5 separate regions of the Homo sapiens genome follow, and all the other regions are linked to region 5. The links are contacts of gene promoters, found by promoter capture Hi-C in blood cells and fetal thymus (Javierre and others, 2016). All regions are on one chromosome and are shown on one strand. Each heading gives the region's core, a stretch centred on a gene start or on the middle of the fragment in contact. The rest is flanking DNA. Distances are from core to core; before and after follow the strand shown.

Region 1 (4,821 bases), core at 849-3,348, 3.0 Mb after region 5:
AATAATAAAAATGTTCATCAGGGCGGAGAAGTGATTGAATGTCATTCTGACTGCCCCAGAAAGCAGAGCCCATGCAGTAGAGGAGCTCTAGTGACTTTTCCAATTGAACTAAATGGCCGAAGGAAAGGGATGGAAGTCTTTAAAGGAATTAAGAGCCAGAAGACCCAGATTACCTGGGTTTGAATCCCATCTCTGCCAATTACTAGTGGAATGCAATGATTAAGTCACCTAAGCTCTCTATGCCTTAGTTTCCTCATTCACAAAGATAGGAATCTTAATCTTAATCTTTTCTCATCCCATAAGATAGAAATAATAGGATCTGTCTCATTGAGTTTTAATAAGGATTAAATGAAATAATTTCTATGAAGTGTTAAGAATTGCCTTGTCCATAATAAGTGTTTCCAGGAATATTAGTTATATCATTGTTACATGGAATAACGATCTCATATTTTTTATTCTGTTTCCACTAGCTGGTAGTTTGTGCAATATCCTTCTGTTCTAGCAATAAGCTGATTATTAGTAGATGTTTTTAGAGTGGTGAGCTTTCATATTTTTGTGTCTTATTTGATATTTTACTGGGAAGTTGAGAGGCACTTCATCAGATCAGTTCCTGCATTTTATTGGAATCTTATGGATGAGTTCTAGAATGGTGATCCATCACTGTAATTTGGGGTTGAACAAGAAGTCAGTCATTTCATTTCCATCCAGGCTTTCCCACCATTTCCTACTCACTGCCTTGTCTACCTCATTTGTTCTTCCACTTAGTTCTGTAACTTTGAAGCAGCTCTGAAGTACAGTGAAACCCATGACCTGGTTTGAAGCTAGTGAAGTCCAGGAAGAATTGCACTCTGTAGTTCAAAAGGCTCTTCTGGGTGATAGTCATTAAGAGAGAAATTTAGTGCAAAATCAAGATCTTTCTAGGTTTTCCAAGTAATTAATTAAACCATCAGATAGTAAGTGTATTGGTGAGACTTAGTCAGTTATTTGAAGAGTGAAATTTTAATGAAAAGAATTGTTAATTAAGTACAAACTTGTCAATTAGGTAGTTGGAAGGATAATAGGAGAACTTTATGATATCGTGAATTTAAATTCTCCAAGCAGTTGCCATTCATTGAGCTGAGGAAAGAACAAGAGACTGGAAATAGAAATATTTAGAGGCTTAGAGGGGTAGCCCCATAAAGCTGAAATTCAGGCATCTGAGGAAAAGGGGTGTTGCTCAGCTGGTGATGGAATCGTTGAGCTCCAAGGAGGGACCCTAAAGAGCTCAGGTTCAGACCTTTACCCTGCTGGTTGATGGTATCTCCGAGGGCACGGAATAAAGTGGTTCTACAAATATTGAAAAATAGCTACTGTCTCTCATTAAAGATTTTTTGAAAGTCGAGACTTGGAGCCTTAATTATCTTAGCTCTCTAGTTTCCATTCACCCACCCCTACTCTGTCCAGCTTTCCAATGCTCATTTCGCTATCAATTATCTCCAGTTTTGAAAGACAGCACTAGATTCCGCCACTGCCCTGGAAAAGAACCACTAACAAGTTGAAGAAGTATTGCTGGGGTGATGCTTACAGGAACCTAGAGCAGTCAGGTAACCCACAGAAAGCAAATCAGAGACAGAAAAGACAGACAAGAAGCAGCAAACCCTTTCTCTTCCTTCAGTCTTGCAGTCTCCCCCTAGTGGCCTCTACTGGCAAAGCCCACCAGAACCAGAAACGTAATGGGTGGAATACAGTAGTCTCCCCTCTTCAAGGTTTTGCTTTCCAAGGTTTCAGTTACCCATAGTCAACCGAAAATAAACAATTCATAAGTTTTCCATTGGACGCTATTCTGAGTATCATGATGAAATCTCCCACCGTCCCACCCTGACCTATCGGGATGTGTGAATCATCCCTTCGGTCAGTGAATCCGGGCTGTATGCACTACCCGCCTGTTGGTTATCAGCATCATCTGCCCCTGACATCCAACCATAGATGTCATCATGGCTCGATGATCCAGGATCTCCCAAAGCAGATGGTCCTCCTGACATATGGTCAGAAGTTCAGTAGTAGCCTAATGCTCTGTGACAATGCCAATGCCATTCACCTCACTTCATCTCATCACATAGGGATCTTATCATCTTACATTATCACAAGAAGGACGAGGGTGAGTACAGTACAGTAAGATATTTTAAGAGAGAGAGGCCACATTCACAAAACTTTTATTACAGTATATTGTTATATTGTCCTATTTTGTTATTAGTTATTGTTATTAATCTCTTCAATTAATTTATAAATTGAATTTTATTATATGTATGTATATGAGAAAACATAGCATAACTGCTCAGAGCTGTGGAGACTGCAATTTTCCAATTCATCTGAACTAAACAGTCAAAATCAGACAATTCAAACTTTAGAAGAAATCTATTAATGTGAATGATTTGCTTTAGCCATCTGCTTTGTCATTCAGAGTGCCTAAAACCATGTCTGGTTGCCAGTCAACTCTGTACCACATAATGTTACCATAATTGTTTGGCAAAATTTCTACCTGGGATACCTCATCACCAGAGGTTGACTTTTCTCAGTCGTCCCTCCCTTAGGAAAGCAACTTGAGTAAACTGATTATATAATTTTGCCATAAATAGAAATCCCTGAGTTACAACATGAATCCACAGAACAGGGTGGAAATTGGAAGGTATCAGCCTATTGCAGATCTCTAAACTAGAGGAGATCTCCATCCAAACACTAAATTCTTACCCTTGAATATGGACTTGGGGCATCAGTCATCTGCCAAATCTTAATATATACATTGATGCCACTGATGTCTGCAAAAGATTACCAGTATTTGCATATACTTGACATTCTCTATACAACAAGTGAATTTTTATGTTAATTTGTGTGTATGCATGAGACTCAGTAAGAATTCTCCAAAATAGAAAGATTTGTTGGAATACCAAATAGCTACTATCTGTCATTTAAGATTTTTTGATAGTTGAGACTTAGAGCCTTAATTATCTTAGCTCCCCAGTTTCCACCCACCCATCTCTACCCTGCCTAGACTCCCAGTGATCATTTACCTATAATTACCTCTCCTGTTCTTAAAGACTGAACTGATACTGTCCATACTTCAAATCTAATCTCTGTATTTTCTTCTCCCGGACCCCAAAATCACTGAGATTCACCCGGAGTTCTCTAAAACAGGATTTCCAGGAAAAACAATTTAGAGAATAACAGTAAAAGAGACCAATTTTATGTAGAATAGGTTTACGTTCAAGGCATCCAAGCAACACTTTTTGAAATGTTCTTTAAGCCATCATGTTGATAGATCATAAAATGACATCTATCATTCTCTGAGTCTTTCATAACTGAAAAAGGAATAAATGCAGTGTAGAGTCAGGCTAGAGTGTTTCACTTCCTTGGGGCCTTGGGTACTTGTATAATAATTTTTAAAACATTTTTGTACTTGTGTAATAAAAATAATCACTCACCTTGATATGCATTTTACAATTTGCAAAGTAATTTCAGTCACTTAACCTTGCATATACGTAAAAACCTAAAACAACTTTGAGAGGAAGGCATTATTCTCCCAAATTACAAATGAACAAACTGAGCGTTGGGTAATTTATTTTACCGAGCAAGTAAAAAAATAAAATTTTCTGATTTTAAGTCCAGTTCTCTCTCCTCTAAATCACTACAGATGCAGAGGTCCTTCTGAGAACTTAGACGGCAGCGTGAGCTGCTACAACATCAACTATGGAATTCGTAGGTCCTAACTTCCCTCCTGACACATTAATAACCAGGCTCTGCTGCCTCCACAAAACCAAGTGTATTCTACCAAAGGTCCCATAAGCAGAAAATTGTACTCTGTTTCAATAAATGGTATATTTTTTAAAGCTGCCTTTAGATTACCCCCTTAGCACCTTGAAACTGTATTTATTATCATCTGAAGCTGGTGACATAGATAAATAATGAATCTTATTTCTTACCAGAAAAGGTCATTTGAATTTTCTGAGACCTATTTGACCTCAAATACACATTAACATATTTATCATTAGCTTCCTTTATCATGTCCGGCCTCTAGAAATGGGTAAGCATCTCATCTTCCTAGAAAAATTCAATTTCAAAAGAGAAGAAAAAAAAAACAAAGAGTTAGAATACAGGTTATGGCTAGGAAAATGTGAGCAGGCTGTTTAAAGAGTGAGTCCATTGCCAAGGGTCATAGGAATATTTTGAAATTGCCTGTGTGTTACTATCATTTAGAATCCTTTCCAAAGGTTTCTGAAAACATTTACAAGAGTTAAAGATTCAATCTTGAGCTTTCTACTATTGTGTGGGATTTATAAAATATGTCCTATGACATATTCATATGTTGGAGGTTTACTGCGAAATTTTATGTGACAGTCTGCAAAGTTACTTTGAGGACTTTTGATAAACATCTGGGAGATGTTAGCATAGACCTTATAATGTGAAAGGTAGATGCTCACTCATCTAGCATAAAAATGTCAGGCTAGCCATAGAAACGCATAAGACAAATCACTACTCCATTATTTCTGAAGATTTATGCTTTGAACAAAGATGATAAATTTAATTCTGGATCTCTTAGCCAAAATGACCCATTACCATACTTCTATTATTTCTATAATATAAACAGAACCCTATCATGGTAGGGATCATATACGTATTTCCTAGACCACATTAATATCTATGACCTTGATCTCATTTGGGGGGTTGGCCACAAGACACCATCTCTCCTTTCATATAGTGCTTTCTACTACTATGGCTTAGCAATGCTACAAAATAGTCCCCTAGTGCCAATGGAAGAAAATATGCTGTAATTGGCTTTATCTATAA
Region 2 (4,920 bases), core at 1,057-3,556, 3.0 Mb after region 5:
TTAGGCAGAGTTAATGATGTAATATAATTGGCTTAGATCCAAATCCATGCAATTCAAAAGTGACTGCACAGCCAGGCATGGTGGCACCTACATGTAGTCTCAGCTGCTTGGGAGGCTGAGGCAGGAGGACTGCTTGAGCCCAAGAGTTCCAGACTACCCTGGGTGACATAGTAAGACCCTGACTCTTAAAAAAATTTTTTAATTAAAAAAAAAAGTGATCCCACTACTATTTTCAACACTCTCGTTGAATACACCAACCACAACTTTGCCTGCTTCATGAGCGATATGTACTAACAAATTAATATATGCTTCTTTCATGGAAATACAAGTGTTTTAAATTGTGCATTTTCTCTGACAGTACAGGACTAAGCACTGAAGCCTATTTATTAGAATTTGGCTAACAAAGCACTATTTTTGCATGGCACAGGGGTACCTCATGAGGGGACCAGTAAGGGATATTTATTTTTAAAACATCTGCTCTCAACTGTGTTGGTTTTCTTTGACTTGCTCTATGCAAATCACAGCTCTTTCTCCTCTGGGGGAAATGTATTCTGCAATTCATGATGAATAGCTGATAGTCGCATCTAATTGTTGCTGACTTAAAGATAAACAATTTCAAATTAAATGTCAAGTGATGCAAAACTTTTTAAAGCAGTGATCTTTTACAGGTTCCTCTTGAAGAACAGAGACCTGGCATTAACTTGGAAGTATTTTTTAATTTAGTTATTTACTTACAATATGTATTCGCTTTTCTAGATAAGTAGAGCAAAGGAGACTAGCAGGCACCATTTATTGAGCAATTAGTTTGTCTCTCCCGCTTTACTTTGTGCTTGCCAGAAGAGTATCACTTAATCCATGAAGAATATATTTGCTCTTGATTTTGTCTGACCATTATATCTTAGAGTTAATTTATGATCGAATCAGCTGAGGTATCTGAAGACTGATGCCAATTTCTAATTCCTCGTGTTTTATCTTCTGGTGCTGCAGAAGGCACCATGGATTTTGTACCATTAGATTTTATTTTATAAATAACCCCCCAGTCAAATTCCAACCACAATAGTTAAAAGAGCACAATGTAATGAAACGCATATGAAATAGTGGCCAAAATGTTCCCAATCTGCCTCTTTCGTTGCAGATGTTCCCAATCTATCTCTCACTAGCCATGTAATTTTGGGCAAGTGACTATCTCTGAGCATCTACACTTATCAGAAGTGTAGATCAAAAGAAGGTACTTTACCAATCTGACAAAGATGTTGTGAATCAAATGAGAAAGTAAAAGTACTTTGGAAAAGTTATAGTGTTACCCAAATAACTAGTGGAGAGGTGTTGGTCATTATCTGGTAAGAATCACTTAAGTGTTAAAGTTCAACTAATTTTCTTTTCGAAATTACTAATCAAAATGAGATATGATTCACATGTAAAATGTTTGCATTCCCCTTACACCTTCCTCTTTACCCTCTCCCTCATTTTTTTCTCTTAAAAAAAAGTGGGCTTAGAAATAAACAAACAAACAAAAAACTAGGTTCCTAAGTAGGTTGCACACTTGCCTGGAAAAAGAAGACATGCCACAGTACTGTTTCTGTATTACCAGCAACTTTTAACCTATGGCACATCTAACACAGCTTCTAGAGCCTTAAGTCCTGCCATAGAAATATCATTAAGATGCCCAAGATATTTGAGAAATGTTGGTCCTTCACATTGCTCATAAGTTTTTTCTATAGGCAAACTATCATTCAGGAAATTATGACCATACAGAGTCTACCCCACTCTCACTCCTATTCCGCCAACTACACCACAAAGCAAACATCCAAATTTTTTCATAGCAAACTTTCTTGATAAGGAAAGCAGTGTGTTGATTCATACTGACCTAAGCTCCTTATCTCATCATGGATATATAATTTACAAACCAGCTACTTTGAGTCCCATTGCCCTAGATAACTGTATACTCTCTTAGGAAAGTATTGCTCATTTTAGTGGCAACAGTAAATATAGAGATGAGAAATCTCATTGTCTTTTTTTCTGCTAGCTCTGGCTATTGCCACATATACACAAGAATAGAGGACCTATGTAGCACCAGAAATATGATGCCAAATCCATAAAACTAGGCAAGAAGAAAGAACATCTCTTAGCATCTGCCATATTACTTTTTGAGTGAATGTTTGAATGACAAACTCATAGAAATTTTTAACCTCTCAGTTGTCTTTTGCTGATATTTTCTCTATGAGATCACAGGAGCAAAGAGCAATGGGGAAGAGGTGAGCTAAGAGTAAGCCAACTCTCTCCATTTCCTTCTCCTTTCCTCAACCTGACACCTCAGCCAAATTCTCAGATATTTTATTTAATTGTGTAAGATTCATGCACTTTCAGGGAGACTGTCAACTGTATTTGATCTCCTGCCTTGAAAAAGTGGGTTGATCCCTGACCTGGCTGGCATTATGTCATGAGGAGTAAACTTTGACATTGAAAGGCTGGTGTCTGATTGGCCAGGGCTGGTTTGTTAATGGAGATGAGCCTGCAAGGGTTCATGTGGTAGAGAATTAAGCAGGATGACTCCTTTTTCAGTCAGGATGAATTACACCTCATCGTTATTCATTTGAAGCATAGATTTAGGAAGAATTTTAATCATATTATATTTTTGCAGCATTTATGTTTTTCAAGGCTTTTTCACAAATATGTTTAAATAATCTCCTAACAGCCCTGTAAAGCAAATGACTATGTATAGACAAAATATGGAGAAATAGAAAGAACTATGCATTGTAGGAAGTGAGAAGCCATCCAGAAGAAAAACAGACTAATAGCACCTTCTTAACTTCGTCTATTTGTCAGCCTTCAACCAAAGAACAGATTGGATCCATCACAGCTTTTGTAATATCCCATAAGAAAAGGCATAAAAGAGAGAAGTATCTACTTCCAGGTTGGACTATTAAAAGCATATTATATAATAATGTTCAAAATGATGGAAATGTAATTAATTGAATCATTTTTTAACGGAGTACAATGTACTCATTCAAAATGAGGATATATTTATTGACACAGAAAGATAGAAAAATTTTACAAAAATGTATGTAAAGTGTGACCTTGTTCCTGTAAAATATGAAGTCTAGAACTTTGTTTATAAAAATCTTAACAGGGATTATAGAGGGTGAAAATCTACATTTTTCTCTATTCATGCATCTATTTTTCTAAAAATAATCATTTTTACCTACAGAATTAAAAAATAATAAGAGAAAAAAGATAAGTTGTCTTTATACTTTCTCATCTAGACTTTCAATACTTCAGTATGAAAATACATATTTTAGAAAGAATAAATTGTAGTGTATGTTTAAATGTATCAAAGCCCTCTCTCATCTCTTTTATAATTTTTTCCTCACAGTTACTTTGTGAGGAGAGCCAGAAAAATATTATTACCATTATAATGTAAATGAGATAATTATAACATATGATGGAGGAAATATAAGGTGGGAGTTAAGAGATTACATTTTTGAGAAGTTCAGAGCTATGTTAGAATCTTGGCTGTACAACTTTTTAGACATCCTACCTTGGAAAACATACCTGATGTCTCCATGTTTCAATTTATTAAGTCATAAAATGTGATTATCTTATAAGTTTATGGTGAGGACTGCACCATATGTACCTAGAGCAGTGTGTTCTTATGATGTTGATAATTGTTCTTTTAGCATAAAGTGTTGACGTGGCAAGATTCATAAAAACTAATCAGAAAAAGAACTCAAATATTCTACCTTATTATGCATTCGCAATGTGTCTATAATATTCAGGCTTAGGACTTCCAGCTCCAGCAAAATAACCCTGAGAAAAATGAAGAAATCTGCTGTTTTGAAGTCCCACTTAGAGTTCTGGTTCACTGAAGTGTACCCGCAATTTAAGTGTGTGCAAAGTAGGTCAGCAAAGAAGTGAACTTTGAAGTCCAGTTTTACCTAGTTGCTCCTTTATATGGGTTCAGGGTGGTTGGAGTTTTGCAGCAGTTACATCAAGGTTAAGAAGAAGCATGTTTTGGTCTATTAGGTGGTCTTAGTGAGGAACTCATAAGTCTTTCCTAACTATTGCTATAACTTCTCATAGGAGGCTCTGAGGAACTAAACTCAGGGAACAATAGAACAGAAATGACAGTTTCATTTTATTAATAAATGCATTAATGCCCAGTGCCCTGCTGCATAGGTCTTTAGAAAAAATTGAGTTGGGACATACGACTTGGGCTTCAGGTTTGTGTGGCATTTCTTAATTCTAAATCTTGATCTTCCATCTAAGCAAACAAAAGAAAGAAGTGGCAGAAGAGATGGAGGACAACAGATATGAGCTTATGAAACAGGAGTGAGCTTATTTTGGTGTGGTAGGGCTGAGTACCTGGAAGAGTTCCAAATCTGAATCCTCAAAACTTGTGAATATGTTATTTTTTATGGCCAAAAGGACTTTGAAGATGTGGTTATGTTAAGCATCTTGAGATAGAAAGGGTATCTTGGATTATCCAGGTGTACTCAATGTCATCACAAGGATTCTTATAAGAAGGAGGCAGAAGAAGTCAAGGTCAGAGGACAAGGCGATGTGACAATGTGATAAAGGAAGCGGAGACTGGAGTGACACACATTGAAGATGGAGAAGAGGCCATAAGTCAACAAATACAGGCAGTCACTAGAAACTCAAAGGCAAGAAAATGGGTTTTCCCCTCAGAGGCTCCAGAAAGAATGCCACCCTTGACTTTAGCCCAGCAAAACATATTTCAGACTATGACCTCTAGTCACAAGTAATAAGAGAATAAGTGTGTGTTGTTTTAAATCACTAAGTTCTTGGTAGTTTGTTACAGCAACAACAAGAAATGAATACAATTGCCCACACAGACTTATGCAGGGAGGAGGTGACAAAAAGATAGAAAGGGATCTGGCCCACCTTATCCTTGGAAGGCAG
Region 3 (4,892 bases), core at 49-2,548, 3.1 Mb after region 5:
ATAACACAAATTAGGATTCTGAGAGAAGGAAAACTAATTTCAGCAAGTGTCTCCTTCACCCTTGCTAACGACCAAGTAAACAGACCTCTCGGAATAAGAGTCCCCGCTTTTATATGCCAGAGATACTTGGGCATAAATTACACCCAAGACCACATACTGTTAAGAGTTCTTGCTTTTCCCCTGGTTAAATTCGGCAAACTCATGAATATTTATGAAATGCTATTTACTATGCAACTAAAAGGTATGAACGGTGCTAAAACTGATTAGGACTATTGTGAGAGACAGTCTTCCTTCCATTTTTTTAGACTTCCATGCACTAAAGTCTGTGGGGGATCACAGGAAATGGGACTCCTCACTCACCTCTATTCCCTGTGCAGAGAGGAGTTGCCTCCAGGCTTTGAGGATTCGGGTTTGAAGAAAGCGGAGAAAGCATGGAAATGTGTGAAGATTGCCATCTAGTGGCTATTGATGCGAGTTGTTACAAAATACTGCAAAAGCCATCTTTTTTCTTTCTCACAAAAGGCAAAAACCAAGTCTAAAATTGTGAGAAATTGCCCTGACATTTCCTCCAGGGTATCTGAGGACAATTCCTCCCCATGCGGCTGTGGGAGTTGGTAGAATTTCAGGACGTGTTGGATGAGAAGGCAACATCATGAGAGAGCCCTGGAGCCTTTATAGAGATGCCCCTCTTCTCACACAGTATAGGTGGCTTCCTGCAACATGAAAGCTTAGGGCTAGCTGGCCAGGGAAGCCAATGCACGCACATCTGGGGCCTCCTCTGAGCTCCTTCCCTCTGTCCTTCTGTCCAATAAGACTTCAGCCTAGGTGTTATGGGTTGGATTGTGTCCCCCAAAAAAGATATTGAGGTTCTGAGGTCCTAATTCTCAATACCTCAGAATGTGTTCTGGTTTGGAAATAGGGTCATTGCAGACATGTTTGGTTGAGCTGAGATGCAGTCATATTGCAGCAAGAGTGAACCCCGAATCCAGTATGACTGGCATCCTTGTCAGAAGCCATCTATCACACAAAGACAGACACTCAGGGAGAGCACCATGTGATGATGAAGGCAGAGAATGGATTTATGCATCTGCAAGTCAGGAAGGCCAAAGATGACCACAAACCACCAGGAGCTAGGAAGAGGCAAGCAAGGGTTGCCCTACAGGTTTCAAAGGGAGCATGACCCTGCCAACTCCTTGATTTCAGACTTCTAGCCTCCCGAACTAGGGGACAATAAATGTCTGTTGTTTAAGCCACCCCGTTTGTGCTGCTTCATTACAACAGCTCTTGCAAAATAATTAATACACTCCACATTTTACTTCTAGTGCCTCTTGCATCCCAGCTCAGGCTCTTCTAGACAAGCATTTGTAGATGTCATTGTTTCCTAGCTGCTCTCCCAGATACTGGTCTCTTGTCCTATTCAATCTACCCATAATGCCAGATTAATCTCTCCAAAATATAATTGTGATTAAGTTGTTCTTTTGATAAAACGTGTGCTTTCCCTACTGGGTAGAGACTAAATGTCTTAGCCAAACATTCAAAACCCTGCTTCATCTGGTTCTGTCTAGCTCATCTTCTGCTACTTTGCTCAAGTACTTCAGCCATTATAAGCAACTTGCTAATATCTACACCTGTACTCTTTCCCACTTCTGTGATTATGGTACTTGTTCCCTTTTCTCCCTCAGGATCAAATACTTCTTGAAGAAAGAAAAAAGTCTTCCTCTATTGTTCCCAGCAAGAAGTAATTTCTCAATTCTCTGAGTTCTTATAGTTCTTTTCCCTTACCTCTCTGATGACATGTTTTGTTGTCCATCTTGTATTATTAATTATAATTCTTTAATGCCTCAATTCACTCACTGATCAGCAAGCTTTCTGAGCAAAGACCATCTCTGAATGTCCCAATGCTTTACATGTTAAAACATGATTGAATAAATGATGCCCTATAAAGAATAATTGAGTAAATGTTGTCTTTTCTTCAGTGTATGGGGAATGGTCAAACCATCTTATCACTTCGTCCAATACCATGCTCTCCCTTGACCTCCCTACTCCGGTATGCTCCATATGCTCTCCCTTGACCTCCCTACTCCAGTCACACTGGCATTCTTTCAGTTCCTCCTACTTGTTTTGTTCCTCCTGCCCTAGGGCCTCTTTGCACATGGAGTTTCTTCTACCTGGAACACTCATTCCTTCCCAGAACATCTAGTTAACTTCTTCTGCTTCTTGAGATTGTAAATCAGTCATCATTTCCCCAGTAAAAGTTTTCTGTTGTCCAAACTCTCCTGGTACCATGTACTTCTCATCTGTAACACTCAAGGCAGGTGCTCCTTTACATCTATGGACATGATAATTTGGTTAATGTCCATCTTCCCATCAAAACTGTAAGCTCCAGGAGAACAGGGACAACAAGAAAAGTATCCACTTTAGGTCAGTATTATATTCTTCTCACATAGTAGATCCTCAATAATTATTTGTTGAGAAAACAAATAAATAGCTGAGTATATCTGTGTGCATGTATGCATACAGTCTACTTGAGTTTTTAAGCAAGCCTAAAGTAGGCAATAATTATAATCTCTACCATTCCTGTACCTACTATGTGATAGGCATTGAGCACCCTTCTTCTTATAATCTATCTCATTTAATCCTGAAAGTGATGTTATGAGTTAGTAATCATCATCCTTGTTTTACAGATGAGTGAAAAGATTCAGATAAGTAACTCTGCCCAAGGTCACAAAGTTGTTAAATAGCAAAACTTTGATTTAAAACCATACATGCCAAAATTCATTAAACACCATTTCAGTATTACAAAAGAAAACCAAACAGATGACAAACCTGATGCTCAAAAACAGTTTAAACTCGAGCTAGTAGTTCCACAGTCTAAACTGTGGCTAACGTCAGTACGCTTAGATATTAAATATGGTGACCGGCAATGCTACAGAAAGGTGAGAGCTTCCAACCAAATGTCAAGGACCACCTGTATAGCTTCTAGAACAGCTGTGTGACCTGGTCTCCTGACTGGCTTGAAAAATGAAGCCTTATATGAACCTCAGGTCTCATTTCCATTTCCGTTGGTTTGATTTTCCAATGTCAGTTATTTTTACATGTGACCTACTCAATATTTCTTTATCTAAAAACTTTTGAGGGAAAAAAATGACATGCTGAAATAGAGGTGCCATCAAGGCTCCTGGTTTCTTCCAAAACAGTTAGTCAACCCTTTTAATTTACTTGCTTCAGTGAATGTCCTACAGTCCACATCAATCCACAGTGATGAACAGAAAAGTAACAAACAGTGTTTTCCATGGAAATTACTAAGAATCATTTACAGAGAAAATCAAAACAATGGTGTTGAGTCCCATAATAATGCTGAGCTACATAGTTTATGAAAGGTAGAACAATGGGAACTCAAGTTCACATTGACTAAAACTCCAGATCTAGCATAATGTTACCTCCTCTACAGCACAGAGTAGAATGGTTCTGCTTGTACACCTGAATTATTTCAGTGAAGTGGTACCATCTTCCTAATACTGTCTGTGTAACCATTCAATATTCCTGTGACAAGATTTCACCTCTTACATAACATTTCTATATACGCTACCTCATCTGACTCTTACAATAACACATCGGTAGATGAAGCATGTGTAGGTATTATCACCATTTCACAGATGAGGATGTTGAGGCTGGTACAGCAATGGCTTCACTCAAAGGCTCACAGCTAATAAGGTAAAGAGCTGAGGCTGGAACCAACTATTTACCTCCTATGCTCTCTCCATTACCCTTTCCTACCTCCTAACCACACACTCACATAGGGAAATACAGCTAAGAGTTTTCACACTGGGAGCTCCTTTCTAAATGACTATCAAGGAATTACTCAGGAGAATGTAAGTGAGGAATCCATAAGAGTGCCTGATGGGCCAGTGATGTTGGTTACTGCATTTCTCAAGTCTGCAATGGAAGGTCTGTAATCAGTCCTCAAAGAGTTTTGAACTGGAGGAGCCAATTTTTATGCTGGTATAGCGTGTGAGCAGCCTGTGGCATACTGTAACCACTACATGAGGAGTGTTGTTAAATGGCTATATGTACACTTAGGTGTCCAGGGCAGGCTGGTATCCTTTAAGACTTCATCTCTACTAGTAGGGTAAGTAACAATAAAATTAGTAATAATAGCAATGATGATAATGACATTATATTGACTAACATTAGCTTTAATACTCACAAAAATGTACAAAATATATATTATTAGCCCCATTTTTCATATGGGAAAACTAATGTCAAGCAACTTGTCCAAGGTCTTACTGCTACTAAGTGGACTGTTAAGATTTGATGTTGGGTTGTCCCATTTTAAATCCTTTCTACCTTATAATATAATACCTAATTAATAATACCTCTTTTTAACCTAATTAATTCAATTGGGATAATAATTCAACCATCAAATATTTTAGCCTCCATATCTTTCCTTTTCCATTAAACTGTCTAGCTCTGTGCTGTCCACTATGATGGCCACATGTAGTTACTGAGCACTGGGAATGTTATGAGCTCTAATTGACATGTGCTGTAAATATAAAATACAGTACAAAAAGTGTAAAACAACTCATTCATAAATGATAATATTGGTTACATGTTGAAACGGTAACACTTTGGATATATTGGGTTAATATAAATATATTATTAAAATTCACTTCTTTGCTTTTTAATGTTACTAAAAATTTAAAAGTACATATATAATTAGACAGCACTGCTATAGATTATTATTCCAAGATTCATCTACTTTATCCCCACATACTGATCTCACAGAGAACCAACCAGTATGAAAATGTTTTTGCTGTTGAATTATTCTCATGGCTCATGAGCCTATAACATAAGATATCAAAACACTATGTTCTATAGTATATGTCAGACTG
Region 4 (4,653 bases), core at 67-2,566, 3.1 Mb after region 5:
TTGTCTTCTATTAAAGGGGGATGATCATTGCAGTCACCTCATGAGGCCATTGTGAGGATGAAATAAAATAATATGCATAAGGCACTAGGGACATCAGTAGGTATTAGCTCTTCATTTGTATAATTATTATTAAATTACAATTTCTGGGCAGGGACTACACCTTATGCTTGTCTGTGTCCTTAATGTAACCATAAGAATAGTTAATTTATTTAAAAGCCTGGGCTGCTAAAGGAACAATCTTTAATTTTCAGAAGAAAAAGTCTTCTGTATAATATAGGTCAAATGAGATGTGAGATAATGAGAAACAGAAAACCTCCTGCAGCCTCTTTGGCTGAGGAGAAGCGATAGCTGTGTAGAAAGCCTGTTCTGAGCCTCTCAAATGTATTTAGTAATCAGCAGACGGATGAAAGGAAGGAAATTTCATCTCTGGTAAAAGCAGTGGAAACATTATGTTCACTTGAGCTTTTTGGGCTTTGACCTAGCTCATTTGGTTCCCCTTGCCCAGGAAAGAGCTGAGAGAATTGCATCTTTTCTCTTCTCTTAAACCCAGCCCCATCACCTCTTTTATTCAGTCAGGGAATATCTCAAAGCTCTGTGGCAAACTCTTTCCTGCAGGCAATCCTGTTTTTGAAACTCTTACTAATCCACAAACTAGCAGAATCTGTGCTCTCTGAGAGAACAAAGACTGATGAGGGATCTCCAGGAGTTGGCACCAAGAATTCCTTAACTTGCATGCTGACTGGTACTGGAGCTTGTTACTAAAGAAAGAAGAGTTGGGGGTGTGGGGAGGACTCTACTGTAAACATAGTATCTCCCAAATAAACAGCCTCTCCCAATATGTTACAGAGCACTTCTGTTTTCCTGCTGAGAAGTTGGTGTAATTTATGTTTGTAAAAGATATCTATTGCTGAGACCATTGTATGAAAATAGACAAGAAAAAGGAGAAGGAGCAAAAGCAAAGAAAAATACTGTATTGCAGTCAGTCACTTCCAACAGTGACTAAACTCTGTAAGTCAATTGTAACAACTACTACTTATGGGCCCTCACTCTGCGCCAGGCACTTTCCATGCATTCTCACATTCTTACATTTAATTCTCAAAATGAATCCATAAGTTAGGAAGTAGCATTGTCCTCATTTTAGAGATGAGGGAGGTATGACTCAGAGATACTAAATGACTTACAAAAGGCCACATGGTGCATAAATCATGGAGACAGAACTTAAGCATAGGTTGCCCTGACTACTAAGTCCTAACCTCTATACTGCTTCTCAAAAGAGGACAGAAAAGCCCAACTGCTGAAGAAGACAGTGGCCCCACCAGCAAGGAAAACTTAGAACTTAAGGACACTGTAGAACCTGCTGAAGAGGACAATGCAGAATCGCACAGGAAATATAGAAGCAGATGGTGGCTCCAACCATTTATCTGAGACTAGGAAGACAGTACCCAGTCAAAGAAGAATGGATGGTCAAAATGAGACTACATTTTTAGTTAAATGTGTTTACTTTTATAAATCATTATATATATTTACCTATATAGTGATCAATTGTTTTCAAATACATCTCGTTTTTTTCTTAAGTCCCAATTAAAGAACGCTTGTATAGTACAAATACTCGTCTCTCCCAACCCCTACAAATCATAATTACTAAATTAATATTTCCTAGTTTCTTCTTCCTCTCCTAGTTTTGCTGGACCCTATTATTTCATTTACAGTAATTTTCATGACTTCTAGTTATAGGAAGTGTTTATTCATATAGTTAGTTACATATTGTCTATCTCTCATCCACCATAGAGACAACAGGAAATGCCATGCAGAGGTCATGGCTCAAGGTAGGAGCTTAAAATTATTTTTCATGATTGAATAAGTGTTCAGTAAAGGCTTCTATTTCCTTATTGACTAGTAAATGTTTTATACATTTGGTGAACATTAACTCTTTGTCTACCCAATTTATTACTAATATTCTCTTGTTTTTCATGTTCCTTTATTTTTTATGATAGGTGTTTAAAACTAAAAATACGGTGTGCTGTGATAATTCAATGTTTTCCTTTTATTATTGTAATTTCTGATACATATTTACCTTTTGGTCTATCTTTTAATGATTTGATATTGTACTTTTAGCTCTTTAATGGCCTGGAACATATTTTTAATATATGATGTAATGAGAAATTTAATTGTTATTTTTCTAACTAATCTATTTTCTCAAATTCTAATATCCTATTTCCTTCCCTATTTCTTTGTTATTTTAATTTATAACACAGTAATTTAATACTCCATTAGTACCTATTAGTACCTATTAGTGCTTCCCTGTTTTAATTATTATTGCTTTATAAAAATGACATTTTCTAATGTGTTCTAATATCCTCCAAAGCAAGGCCTATCATTTTCTTTTTCCAAATATTTTTACCACTCTTGCCTGATTTTTCTGTATATGGAACTTTAATATTTACAGTCTGATCCATAGCGGGTTAAGCAATCTTCTCCCACACCACTGAATGATTCTTTGATGCTTTGAACCAACTTCTTGGTGACTCCTCTCTCCCTGCAGCTCTGCACTTACTTGGGATTTCATTCTACGAGTGCATGGCAGCACACACATTCCCCAGCCATATTTCCTGCCCTATTCTTTTGGAAATTTCAGGCTCTGAAACAATGTCTAACCAGATTATGATGGAACAAAACCTGCAAAATTAATGGAGTAGAGTGGAGTTTCATCTCCACTAGAAATGAAGATTCAATTCAAAGTGTAGAAAAATTACATTTTAAAATCTTTTAAATTACCTATTTAGCTTGACATATATGGTTTTGTGTATACAATATGAAAAATAATATAGCTACATTAAAGTATGTGATAATATAAATAATATACCATAATATAATAAGTAGCACACTTATTTAAGGGAATGAGAATTATCAGTACTATTTAAATTCATATTTTCTCCCTCCCACCTCTCTCTTCTGAGCCTGTTTATTTTAATATAGATAAATTGAATGTACCTATAAGGCAGTTTCACTCTATCTGCATGATAGAGACAGGCTTCCTATTTCTTGAGTTGTTCTGTTTCTGGATCTCTGATTTAGGAGAAAAACAATATGGAAATTACTTTTAAAATCTTTATATCTTCTTTCAGGCCATGAGCTTGCTCTTTTGCAAACAACAAACCATATGTAAGACACAGATTTTCCTTTTCAATTTTACTCAATAGGTCTTGTTTAATTTTTGTCCTGGATTTTGACAAAAATTTTACTATCAGGCTTGAATTTTAGTGTTATAAGTTTTCATAATCTTTGTGTGTGTGTGTGTGTGTGTGTGTGTGTGTATGTGTGTGTGTGCATGTGTATGCATGTGCATATGTGTGTGCCTTTGTCCTTATATGGGGAGAAATTGGAAAACACTGCATCTGAGGCTGCTAAATCAATAATATCTCATTAGATGCTTCTAAACTATCATTTAATAATTTTCTGAAGAAATATGTCTCAAGTTTGTGTAAGGATTAATTTCAACATCTGGAATTTCTCAGTAGAATTGTTTGTAGGGGTGAGTGTGATTATATGAATTAATCATTATCCATTGTAGGGGTCTTCATTTCACTCCCATGTCTCTCTCTCTCATGCCTATTGGATTTGTTTCTCTGTCTAATACTAAATGCTCAATATGATTAGCTAATTCAACTTCCTATTTAGCAAGAAAGCAACAATTTCATCCGTGACTCTTAAGCCATATTATTGATTTTTAAATCTGTCCTATGGGTGATTCGGAGGTTATGGTGCAGGAGAATGATATGGTCATATTTGTATTTTAGGAAGAAAACTGGCAACAGAATAGGGAGCTGAAGCCAAGAAAACACTTAGGAATAATTTGTTCCTGCTAGCTAAATGTGGAGCTTGCCTTCCATTGCTTTTTGCTTCTAAAAGAGGATTAAGACAGAGGAGGAAATAAAAAGGAAGAAGGAAAGGAAGAAAGCTAAAAGAGGAGGGCAAAAGAAAACACAGGAGCAATTTATACAAATCAAAATGAGGAGTGAGGAAATGAAGCTTCCATTTCTCTCACCTCAAGATCCTGCTGGCAGCTCAAGCCTGGACACCCAGAGCTACCTATTGGATCCTGTCTCCTGGTTTTTGAGACCTTTCTCTCTTTTGCCTCTCACATCTGATCTTGTCACTAAATCCTTTTTATTTTATTCTATTCTATTTTTGAGACAGAGTCTCACTGTGTTGCCCAGGCTGGAGTACAGTGGTGCAATTTTGGCTCACTGCAACCTCCATCTCCCAGGTTCAAGCTATTTCTGGCTAATTTTTGTATTTTTAGTAGAGACGGGGTTTCACCATAACAGCCAGGCTGGTCTCGAAATCCTGACCTCAAGTGATCCTGCCTCGGCCTCCCAAAGTGCTAGGAGTACAGGCACAAGCCACCGTGCCTGGCCAATCCTTTTTAATTTTAAAAAGACCATTTTTCATTACCCTCCCTACCATGAACAGCAGTAGAACACTTAGCATGTAATCAAGATCTTGAGGGGCTTCTAATTCCCCATCCCTGTTGAATGCTTCCCAGTGATGATTTTTCCAACGCTCTGTTTTTATCATTACAAGCTTTGCTCAAAAGCTTAATTTGGAAAGACAAAAGACAAATTCTCAGAACAAATTTTAAGAATAAATTTT
Region 5 (5,191 bases), core at 2,275-4,774:
GAAAATCTATACTGAAAGCCAAAATTGGATGACTCTTTACCATACTTCCAAATATGAAACACTGTATTCATTCTGCCTCCAAATTCTACACTCCAGTATCCAACCAATTCAGAGTGAGCTGTCCGAAGATGAGCGTTTTTCTCAAAATTTTCCAGGAACTCATTCATCTTTGAGGGCTTAAGGTAATAAGAACGAAATTCATAGAATATTCCATCGTATTGTCTGGGTCCCGTAGCAAAAGATGAGCACATCTGAAGAAGATAAGACAAATGTAAATATCTTGAGAAGACAGGATTCATTATATTGTGTTAAAACCTAATCTGAATCTGGTACAAGGGACACTCATAGACTCATTACTCATGTTTGTACTTCTGTTGTCAATTCTCAATATGTTACTGATGGAGGGTGTCCAGGTTCTTGGTGTTTGAACAAAGAACTGGACAAAATGCACAAAGCAAGGAAAGAATGAAGTAACAAAAGCAGAGATCTATTGAAAATGAAAGCACACTCCACAGGGTAGGAGTGGGCCTGAGCAAGTGGCTCAAGGGCCCTGGTTACAGAATTTTCTAGGGTTTCAGTACCCTCTAGAGGTGTCCCATTGGCTATGTGGTGTAAGCCGTATATAAATGAAGAGGATGAAGTAAAGTTGCAAAGTCATTTACTCTGTGTACACCCTATGTAAATGAAGAGGGTATTTCTTGTCATAGCTGAAGGGTTTGATTTAGTTCTAGGAAGTCCTTAGGTTCCCTGCCTCAAGACCCTATTCTCCTGCTTCACATATACATTTGTTTACATAGAGGTGTCAATAAAGACAACTACTCTTAAATATGCTGAGTGTGTAGTTACTGTTTCCTAGTGGGGGTTCACTGTCACCTTTAGCCACTTTTTCAGAAATTGCTCATAAGAAGGCGCTGAGATCTTAATGATACTTCTTTATCCAAGAACTACAATTAGGATTCTAACAAATTTACAAAAGTTTTCCTATTAGCCAATATTGCATCTTTAGTCAAGAGCATACGTGTTACAGTTATGCACATCAAAGAACTTTATTAACTACGCACGTAACTTTTGGCAGGCATAATGAAAAAAATGTTTACTAGAAGAAAACTCTTTTAGGTTCTTGAAAAAAATGGAAATTACAGTTCAGGTCAAAGTATTTCCTAATTCAATGAAGTAAACCACTGACCAAAATTAGGACTGGAATGTAACTAATGCAATAAAAAGCTCTGACCTATCCAATTGCATTGTAATATAATGGTAGAACATGAATGCTGAGAAAAGAAAATTCAGAGTCAAAATTTTCTTATTAGTTTCTAATTACAGATGCAATGTGAACAACATTTAATGAATCCACTTATACCACATTGATGAAAATATCACTTAAGAACCATTAATTCCTTTTGTAATAGTCATACACGCACTGTAAATTTCTAATTTGTGTTCTGGTTGAACTTTCTGTAAGAAATACCTCGCCTAAGATTATCCTCTATGTAGGTATCTATGTGTATATATGTATACACATACACACACACATACGCACACACACATATATATATGCACTCATGGTATACACACAGGCATTCGTGATATTCTTATAAATCCATCTTACTTAAGTTTGAATAGCATGTGCCATTTCCTTAAGTTGATTACACCAGAATAATCTGTGAAGACAGTTTTGATACCTACAAAGCTATGGACAAATTAGGGCTTATACTGACTAGCCAGTATGTCTGTCTGAAAGCAGTAGGCTTTTGCTCCGACATATTTTTGTTTACAAAATACAAAATTATGTAACTGTGTATGATAAGGCTTAATGATAATTATCTAGAGTTAATTCTATTCGTGTGTGACTTATATTCTTATTGCTCAAATGACTAAGCCTACCAACAAAAACAGCTGCAGCTGCCCCTGCCTTTTGTGGACACTCTTTTTGTGCTTTTAAACCAAACTCTAGTAACAATGTTGGTCAAGAAGCAAGTGCCTAGTATCCATAATTTCAAAATTATTATAATAAAATATATCAGGAGATAGGCCAATGGGGCATTTGTGACAAATGGATTTCAGGTTGATTCGAGGAATTTGTATTTGGAGGATAAAATAGTTGATCAAAGGTACACATTTTTACAATTTTGGGCAGTATTAATATACAGTAGGGAACCTACAGTGAGAGAGGGAGAGAGATGTGGACAGGTGGTGCCAGAGAAGGAAGACTGCAGGGGAGCCGGGTATGGTGGGGGAGCCGGATGGGAGTTAAGAATTTTGTTGCAGGGATGACTTTTAGCTGCTAGGGCAGAAATCATGAGTCGTCCATCCTCCCTTATCTCCAAGTTAGGGATCATTCCCACCAGCAACGACCTCCACTTCACTTAAAAGAGAACAACTGATGGACATTTCTAAAAACTTAAAGTTTGGAATCATGCCATAAGGACGTCATTCCTGGCCCTGCCCCACTGGAGAATCATTAGGGTAAAAACTGCATTGTTAACCCGGGGTGAATGGACATGAGCTGCTCTTCTTTAGTGCTCCTCAGTCTGTCTCTAGGACAGGTTAATCCCCTTCCCATCCTGCCCCTTCAGAAAGGAGTAAAGTCCTAAACATCAAAAGGAAAAGAAATTTCTAGGTTGAAGCCACAGAATAGGCCACTCCCGAAAGTTAGGGCAGAATCACAAGCTCCATTTTGTCCATTTCTCATCTAAGGTTAAAAGAGTCTGTCTGTCATCGTCCGGTTTGATAGGAGGCTCCGGTCCCGCCTGGTTGGGGGAGCGACCACACGAAGCGCGGGTGGCGGGCAGGGTCCAGCCCCACCGGGACCCTGGGCCTCCTCTTCAAGGGTCTCCGCGAAATGCTCGGAAGTTGTGTGCTTCATTTAAAAGGGGGAGGCCGGTTCCGTGGCAAGCGGCTGGTTGACAATTCCCTCCTTCAACCTGATGTCTAGAGAGGGCGGTGGCTTGGAAAGCTACGACTCCACCCGCGGCTCCACAGCGCCAGGTGACAACATGGGAGCGCTCGCTGGGCCGCAGCCGCGACATAGCTGGGCAGCAAAAACGAAACAGCCGGCGCCATGGGAGTGTCCCGGTGGGTGTGGCATCCAGGCTAGAAAAGCCTTCTGACCACCACTGCCCGCGAGACGACCCCGGCTGGGGGTATTCCCCTAGCAGCGGCCTCCTCCTCACGCGCGTTCCGGGTACCCCTGTCTTGGGGTTCCGGGGCTCACGCTAGAACCTCACCGGGGCCCCAGGTCTGGGCGCGCGTGGCGGAGAGCGCATGCGCATTGCTCGCACGTACCCGGAACACTCCCCGCCCCGCCCCTCCCCTCCCGTCGGGTGAAGGCTTGGGTACCCCCGTGGCCGGTACCTGAGGCGCCAGCGTCCGTGAGGCCAGCGCCCGAGTCAGGGCGCTTCTGAGGACGAGCATGGCGCGGCTTCGGCGCTGAGAAAAGCAGCCAGCCGTGTCCTTTCTGAGACTCCTCTGAAGGTTTCCCGAGTGGAAAGGAGCGGCTCCTGGATCATTGGCAGACGCAGGCTGGGGCGGGGCTCGGCGGGGTCAGCTCCACCCCGGCGCGGGAGGCGCGGCGGGTCCCGTAGCTTGGTGTCTTTCTCTGCTGTGCTGAGCGTTGGTTCCCCCTTGGTTTCCTGAAACGTTCTTACCCCAAACGTTAGAGGTGACGTTAGGATTAACTGAAGGCTCGGATCGTTCCTGCTTCAACTTTCTGGGCCCTCACTCACCTCATTCGCTCCAGTGCTCAGTTGTGTAGATTGGTAAATGTGCAGGGGTTGTGGGTGTGTTGACCATGGGGAAAGAAGGAGAGGTGTTGAGTGCGTGCATGTGCAGTGCTTTGTATTTAAAATCGTGGAGGTTTTTTCCGAGTTAAGTTTTAGATGTTGTGATAGACGTGTATTTGAGCCTGACCTCTCTGCAATGAATGTGTTCTCCATCTTAGAAGGCTCCTAATTAAGATTTAGATTAAATTTTCCACGAGCTCAGAGAAATGGCAGCATCGAGCCTGAAATGAAAAAGTCAAAGTTAAACATACCCTGGTCTAGTCCTCCCAGTCCGGGAGTGTTGGTTCCCAGAGTAACCACCTTCAACATTTCAAGCTGTTTCATTTAATGCTTGTTTCTGTATTTTTAAGTAAGTAGTGTTTTCTGCTGTTTATTGCATTTTCAGTTATGGATAGTATGTGTTGACTTCCTTCTGTGGCAGATGAGGATTTATGTCTCATAGATGCCACTGCCCCCAAATTCACTTGTCTTCCTGCATCTAATAATGCTTATGTTAATTTACAGTAATTAATTACACTATTAATTTACAGTAATCTATATTAATGTTTACATTATTCTTGCTAATAATTACATTATTGTAAACATTAATGTAATATTGCTTACATCATGAGGACTAGGGAGGGATTGCAGGGCCATGACCTGGGTTGTATTGGTTGTGCCTTGTGGAAGAGCTTTGGAATTGTCTGTTCAAAGGAAGGGAGACTTTTTAAAATTAGTTATTTCGGAAGGGTTGCCTCAGTTTTTCTAGAAGAGAGACATCTATTTGTAACCATGCAAGACTAAAAAAATCATTTGTATCAGGACTGGATCTATATGAGTAAATTATTTTCTTAGACCTTTTTTTTTAAACCCTGTAATTGCCAATCCATTTACTTATTCAACAGATATTTACTAAATTCCTTCCATGTTCCAGGCACTTTTCCAGAAACTGGGGTACAGAATTGAGCAAAATTCAAAGTCCCGTCCTCTTGGAACATCCAGGATGGAGGAAACAGATAAAAAAAGGAAGAGTAAATATATCAGGGATTGTCAAATAATATAAAGAAAAATAAAGTAAGATACGAATAAAGGTGCTAGTGGAATTCTAAAAGTGGTCAGGATTCTAGCTATTGACTTGGATATTTAGGATTTAGGTTTCTTCATACCACTCCCTCAAAATACACTTTCCTTCCTGCGTTTATTGATGTTTACATTAAAAATATATTTTGGAGTGAGAAAAACATGTTAAAAGCACTGTAAGCACAGGTGAATCTCTTCAAATAGTGGGCTTCACTGTGAGGTGATCTGACCTGGGTATTTCACTGAAGGCTGTATCCCCTCCCCCCAAACTGTTATCTGCAAGTTATTTATCTGTGTAGTCAGTGTTAGGGAAGGGAAACTTCCAGTATCTTATCTGTGTGAGAAAAGCC

The links. Contacts are between HindIII fragments. The CHiCAGO score rates a contact against its expected background, and 5 or more counts as called.
Region 1: a contact is called between a fragment that was not itself captured here and the fragment with the promoter of NIPSNAP3A in region 5, in 10 of 17 cell types (naive CD4 T cells, naive CD8 T cells, total CD4 T cells and 7 more). The highest score is 17.5, in naive CD4 T cells.
Region 2: a contact is called between a fragment that was not itself captured here and the fragment with the promoter of NIPSNAP3A in region 5, in 9 of 17 cell types (naive CD8 T cells, total CD4 T cells, total CD8 T cells and 6 more). The highest score is 15.8, in naive CD8 T cells.
Region 3: a contact is called between a fragment that was not itself captured here and the fragment with the promoter of NIPSNAP3A in region 5, in 15 of 17 cell types (total CD4 T cells, naive B cells, endothelial precursors and 12 more). The highest score is 56.3, in total CD4 T cells.
Region 4: a contact is called between a fragment that was not itself captured here and the fragment with the promoter of NIPSNAP3A in region 5, in 4 of 17 cell types (M2 macrophages, naive CD8 T cells, M0 macrophages and 1 more). The highest score is 11.2, in M2 macrophages.

Annotation. Positions count from the first base shown.
Region 1 is chr9:101,708,389-101,713,209 of GRCh38, reverse strand. All of the region lies in intron 1 of GRIN3A (glutamate ionotropic receptor NMDA type subunit 3A), which reads left to right. Among named protein-coding and RNA genes, the nearest start is that of GRIN3A, 28 kb to the left of the region's middle. The HindIII fragment of the contact is 6,514 bases long and covers 1-4,821 here.
Region 2 is chr9:101,729,148-101,734,067 of GRCh38, reverse strand. All of the region lies in intron 1 of GRIN3A (glutamate ionotropic receptor NMDA type subunit 3A), which reads left to right. Among named protein-coding and RNA genes, the nearest start is that of GRIN3A, 7.0 kb to the left of the region's middle. The HindIII fragment of the contact is 5,344 bases long and covers 1-4,920 here.
Region 3 is chr9:101,597,907-101,602,798 of GRCh38, reverse strand. All of the region lies in intron 6 of GRIN3A (glutamate ionotropic receptor NMDA type subunit 3A), which reads left to right. Among named protein-coding and RNA genes, the nearest start is that of PPP3R2, 5.4 kb to the right of the region's middle. The HindIII fragment of the contact is 1,138 bases long and covers 730-1,867 here.
Region 4 is chr9:101,688,405-101,693,057 of GRCh38, reverse strand. All of the region lies in intron 1 of GRIN3A (glutamate ionotropic receptor NMDA type subunit 3A), which reads left to right. Among named protein-coding and RNA genes, the nearest start is that of GRIN3A, 48 kb to the left of the region's middle. The HindIII fragment of the contact is 5,431 bases long and covers 1-4,031 here.
Region 5 is chr9:104,746,016-104,751,206 of GRCh38, reverse strand. NIPSNAP3A (nipsnap homolog 3A) reads right to left here and starts at 3,524. Exons shown (of 6, transcript NM_015469.3): 1 at 3,355-3,524; 2 at 41-251. The coding sequence starts at 3,414. It overlaps LOC107987105 (a long non-coding RNA gene), which reads left to right and starts at 3,568. Exons shown (of 5, transcript XR_007061705.1): 1 at 3,568-3,758. RefSeq lists an enhancer at 2,961-3,120 and a silencer at 3,541-3,630. The HindIII fragment of the contact is 7,745 bases long and covers 1-5,191 here.